Regions from separate parts of the Homo sapiens genome. Here region 2 is linked to region 1. The links are contacts of gene promoters, found by promoter capture Hi-C in human tissues and cell types (Jung and others, 2019). All regions are on one chromosome and are shown on one strand. The core of a region is centred on a gene start or on the middle of the fragment in contact, and the rest is flanking DNA. Distances in the headings are between cores, read along the strand shown. Region 1 holds the start of DACT3 (dishevelled binding antagonist of beta catenin 3). Region 2 overlaps ARHGAP35 (Rho GTPase activating protein 35).

Region 1 (2,700 bases), core at 114-2,613:
ACAGACTGAGCCTGGGACGTCGGGCAAGAAGAAGAGAGCGAGGTGCAGACAGGCAGGAAGGGAAGGCCAAGGAGACAGATGCAGAGGGACACAGAGATCACAGAGACAGAGAGACAGGATGAAGAAAGAGAAGCAGACACAGAAAGTCACAGGGATGTGGCAGGACGGAGAGAGTGACAGAACCCAGGACGAGATCGGGAGACTCAAGGAATGACATAGAAAGGGGAGAGGCATGGGGCGTCCTCAAGTCATTCCGGAGACCTCTGCCCATCTTCCACCATGAGAACACCCAGAGTCCAGAAGTCTCCCCCAGGCGCTGCCTCGACCTGCCTCCCCTTGGGTCAAGGAGAGCTGGGGCCAGGTAGGAAGCAGGGGAAGTGTCACCAAAGGGTCAAGATCCCAGTGGGGGGTCCTCAGGGACTGTGAGCTTCCTCTCAGCAGTGGTCCCTCCCTCTGGAGGCCCTGAGATTCCCCTCCTCCCACCCCGCCCCCTCCAGAGATCTCCAAGCACACCAGGACTTAGGGAAGATGGAGCCCTGGTGGCGGGGCCCAGAGAAGGGCATGTTTGGAGCCTGGCTGTGTCACCTTGGGTGAGTCGCTTGCTCTCTCTGAGCCTCAATTTGTTTCTCTGTTAAATGGGGACTATCACCCCGTTTCCCAAGCCGCAAGAAGACAACGCCTGCAAAGTACCCGGTCTCGGGTTTGACACATACTTGGCGCCCACAAGGATTTTCTTTGGGGAAGGGGTGTAAGAGACAGGGCCTGTGTTTCTCACGAGGCCCCAGTGGGGGCGATGCAGTTCCCCCTCCCCCGATTTGGGGGCGGGGAGGCCAGGTCCGGCCCGCCGCCGGAACTCCGGGGTCGCCAGCCCCACCCCCTGTCCTTTCTCACTCCCTGCCTACCCGGGTCCCCAACCCCCGCCCGGTGTCTGAGCATCCAACCGAGACAGACAGACACAGACGGGGGTGGAGGGACGGACGGACAGGCAGCCCCTTACCAGCTGCTCCTCCAGGGCCGCTGCGGCCCGGCGCGCCGCCGCCGCATCTTCATCCTCATCGGCGTCCTCCTCGTCCTCGGCCTCGGCGCCCCCCATTCCGGGCTGGGCCAGCCGCAGCGCCTGCTGCACGCGGTACTCCTGCCTCTCCCGGAGCCAATGTAACTCGCAGAGCCCGGCCAGGCTACCCTCCAGCCAGCCCCGCAGCCGGCCCCGCTCAGGGCTCACCGGGAACGAGAAGGCCCGGATCATGGCTGCGGCCCCCCGCCCCAGCCCGGCCGGGCCCCGCGGCCACCCCTCTCCCGGTCCCACCTCCCCGCCCCAGCAGCCTGCCCGCCCGCCCGCTGGCCGGGCTGTCACCGTCTCATCTGCATAGGCGCCCGCCCATTGGGCCGCCCACCCGCGCCTTATCTGCATGGCCACGCCCCCGGCGACCGAGCAACAGCCGCCTATTGGCGAATAAGCTTCCTGACGAAGACTCTCGGGCGTGCAACCGCACCGCCCAACACGACGCATGCTCGCAACTGCCTACTCACTCCGCTCGCCACGCCCCCTCCGTGCAACTGCCTCGGGGCCCTGGCCACGCCCCCCCACGCGTCACAATGAAACAAGCCCGCCCTTGCTTCAATGCCATTGGTCTGTGCCTGGCCGGTCCTGCAGCAGGTTCCACCCTCTTGCGGGCGAGCGCTGGCTACCATTGGACTGTCCGGCGCGAGGGGAAGGGTGATCTATAAATAGGGAATGGGTACACGTGACAGTTTGGCAGCTGCTCCTACCCCTCCACCCCGCCCAACCTTCAGCTTCTGAGGCTGCGCAGGGGGAGAAAAGGGTTAGGGGGTCGAGCCCTGACTTCGCCTCCTCTTCCAAGAAGCCTTCCCAGACACTCAGCTGTAAAACCAGACGGACGTCCTCCGATGAAATTGTTTCTACTTAGGGCCGGCTTCACCGGCTTGGAATCCACTTAGAAGGGTCTTCGCGCTTGGTTGAATGTTCTGCAATTTCTGTCTTGAAATTTTTAGTTTTTGAGCAAGGGGCCCCTTATTTTCACTTTGCACTAGGCCAAATATGTAGCCGGTCTTGCTGCTAAGAGTCTAAGATCGATTGCATTCCAAATTCTGGAATTATAAGACCCTGGGTGGAAGATTCTATGCTTTGACCAGAAGAGAGTCTAAGCAGCTTTTGTCTCCCAGGTGCTAGGAGGATGTGTGCTCATCATTCTTCCATTCCAGGGGCCTTTGTTCTACGTTCTAAGGGGCTTTGTTCTCAGCCTTCTATGATGCTCTATTCTCAACGTTCTCTGGTCCTAGGAGTCTGAGCCTGACATTCGTTTCCAAGGCTTCCTGCTGTCTCTCCAGGCTCCGCAAGCAGGGCTGGGGCACCCTCAGGCGGCCAATCTGTATCACTACGCCGAGCCTGCCTCTACCAACTTCCAAGACCTAGCTCTAATATTCATACTCATCTCTCAGACAGACCTTGGCTCCCTAAAAGCCAAGGCCCAGAAGATCATACAAGAAATTCCCTCTTTTATGATTCCCCGTGCACGAAGTGACCTTCTGGTGGTGAGATGGAGAGAAATTGATAGTGGCGATAGACAGCAAAGTCTCCAGGAGCCAGACTTCCTCGGGGTGAGTCACAGATCTGTCACTTTCCAGCTGTGTGACCTTGGAAAACTTACTTAACCTCTCTGTGCCACCGTTTCTTCATCT
Region 2 (2,700 bases), core at 115-2,614, 310 kb after region 1:
TTGGAGTCTGGGATGGAGGCTTGTCCTTAAAGATACACTGGATTCTCTAACAGGATGGGAGGAATAGTCTAGGTGTGGAAAGTCAACTGAATGAGAGTCAGGTGTAGAGGTGAGAGGCCGTGCTGACCACGTAGCCATATTGCCCTAAAATCCTTTGAACGTCAGCCTCCAGCAATTGGACTTGGCCTGGGCTTTTCAGATTTTTTTTTTTTTTCTCAGATCCCTAGAATTGTAAGGGAGTCCTTCTGCATGGGGACGGGAAAGGTCAGGCCACCAGGACTCTGGATCCTTCAGCCTTAAGGTTCAGTTTAAGATTTCATTTGGAAGAAGGATTTTCTCACTCCTGAGAAAGCTTGTCAGCCCTCACCGTTACCATTTGCGGGAAGGTAGGGTTTGAAGGTTTTCATCCCAGAGAATCTGCTGACCTGAGTCAACAGCATGTCCTCCATGGGGAGGGGGTCTCTCCCTTGTTACCTTCCCACACCAGTCAACCTCATCAGTCAGTCCCATTGTTTTTACCACCTAAGCGTGTTTTCAGCCTGGCCCCTGCCCCTGCGTTTAGTCTCTCACCCTCTTCTTGGTTTACTGTGGTAGCCTCTTTGTAATTGACCTTCCTGTTTCTGGTCTCATGTCCTTTCAGTCCCTTATGCACACTGCTGCAAATATCTTTCCAAAATAAATGGGATCACTTCATCTTCACCTGCTTAAAACTCATCAGTGGTTCTGTATCACTCTAGGATGAAGTTTCATCCTACTACTTACCAGCAGGATGTGGTCCCTGCCCACTGTCTAGCTCTGCCTCTTGCCATTTCCTTCATTCACTCTAAACTTCAGCCCACAGATTAAAACTACGCACAGTTCCTTAAGCTGCCATTATATTTCTCACCCGCACTGCCTTTCCTTGCTGTTCCACTTCGAGACTCCCTCCCAGAGTCCTTCTCTGATCTGCTCTGTGAGCCAGGGCTCCCTGCCGTGTCTGTCACGCCCGGAGTCCTTCTCTGACCTGCTCTGTGAGCCAGGGCTCCCTGCCATGTCTGTCACGCCCTGTGCTTTCCCAGTGAACACGTAGCACACTGTACTCTGATTGTCTTCCTTCCTCAATGGATCCTAAGTTCCTTGAGGGAAGGGACCGGGTCATCTTCATTGTCTCCTCCAAGCCAAGCATACAGGGCTCTAGTAAATGATGATGAATGACTGAATGGCACAGAAACACTCCAGAGACCTCTCCCCTCAAAAGCTTCATTCAGTGGTGGAAACGTGGAATTGTATACATAGAAAGGGAGGAGGAAGAAGATTCATATAACACTAAGGTCTTGAGCAAGGTGGCAGTATCTGGGCAGGAGCAAATGCCCAGTGTTTAGTGTAGGGGCACAGCATGTGTGTTGCTGATAGGGCATGCGTGTGAAACATTTAGGTGGGATATCTAAATAAATGGGCTTGGACAGAAGGAGCTGTGGGTCAGCAGAGCAGGAGGGAAGAAAGCAAGGGAATCCACCGGCAAGGCTAATGGGAAGCCTGCTGTCCCTCGGCTGGAGGCCAGCCACAAAGTGTCACACACATCCTTCCTGAGTTTGGGGAAATATCTGTAGGTCACTTCAGAATTTGGGTTCAAAATAATATGGAGGCCACATTATTCATAATAGCCCCAAAATGGTAAGAACCCAAATATCCCACTGATGAGTGAATGGATAACGAGATATAATATATTCATACAGTAGAATATTATTCGGCCGTAAAAAGGAACAAAGTAGTGACGTGCTACAGATGGATGAACCTTGAAAACATTACGCTAAGTGAGGTAAACTAGTCACACAAGATCACATGGCCCATGATCTCATTTACACAGAATTATCTAGAATAGGCTAATCTATAAAGATAGAAAGTAGATTAGTGGGCCGGGTGCAGTGGCTCACACCTGTAATCCCAGCACTTTGGGAGGCCAAGGCAGGCAGATCATCTCAGGTCGGGAGTTCAAGACCATCCTGGCCAACATGATGAAACCCTGTCTCTACTAAAAATACAAAAATTAGCCGGGCGTAGTGGTGTGTGCCTGTAATCCCAGCTATTCAGGAGACTGAGGCGGAAGAATCTCTTGAACCTGGAAGGCAGAGGTTGCAGTGAGCCAAGGTTGCACCACTGCACTCCAGCCTGGGCCAGAGAGCAGGACTGTCTCAAAAAAAAAATAGAAAGAAGTAGATGAGTGGTTGCCAGGGGCTGCGAGAAGGGAGAAATTTGGAGTGGCTGCTCATGGATACAGTTTTTTGGGTGTTGATGACAGTGCTCTAAAATTGTGGTGATACTTGTGCAACTCTGAATGTGCTCACAGCCATCGAATTGGACACTCTCACAGTGGGTGAATTGTATGTTGTGTGAATTATATCTCAATAAAACGGTTGTGAAATAATAATCATAATAAACGGAGGATAGGTGGATAGATGTTTTACTCCAGGTTTGCTACTTAAAATTTTTCACTGAGTCTGCAGTGGCCTGTGTTCTTTTTGAGGTGGGTCCTTGGAGAAGAGACCTGCTCTGACAAAGCTTCCTCACTGCCTGGTGGTTTCTCCTGTCTGGCACATACACTCTGTCGGACTGCTTGAGGCACTGCTCCACTCTCAGGAGCAACCAGGGATGGGAGACAGCACTAGTGTCTTCGGTGAACGTCTGCATCCAGCCCGCGTGAGCTGCGACACACAGACCCTT

The links. The method cuts DNA at HindIII sites, captures the fragments that hold promoters and counts their contacts. A contact is called where the count stands out against the background at its distance.
Region 2: a fragment that was not itself captured here is called in contact with the fragment with the promoter of DACT3 in region 1 in 1 of the 25 tissues and cell types used here (dorsolateral prefrontal cortex).

What each region holds. Positions count from the first base shown.
Region 1 is chr19:46,659,819-46,662,518 of GRCh38, forward strand. DACT3 (dishevelled binding antagonist of beta catenin 3) reads right to left here and starts at 1,364. Exons shown (of 4, transcript NM_145056.3): 1 at 998-1,364. The coding sequence starts at 1,246. It overlaps DACT3-AS1 (DACT3 antisense RNA 1), which reads left to right and starts at 546. Exons shown (of 3, transcript NR_040042.1): 1 at 546-590. RefSeq lists silencers at 1,162-1,411, 1,622-1,741. The HindIII fragment of the contact is 5,076 bases long and covers 1-2,700 here.
Region 2 is chr19:46,966,912-46,969,611 of GRCh38, forward strand. The region is part of intron 3 of ARHGAP35 (Rho GTPase activating protein 35); the gene reads left to right. Among named protein-coding and RNA genes, the nearest start is that of NPAS1, 52 kb to the right of the region's middle. The HindIII fragment of the contact is 4,877 bases long and covers 1-2,700 here.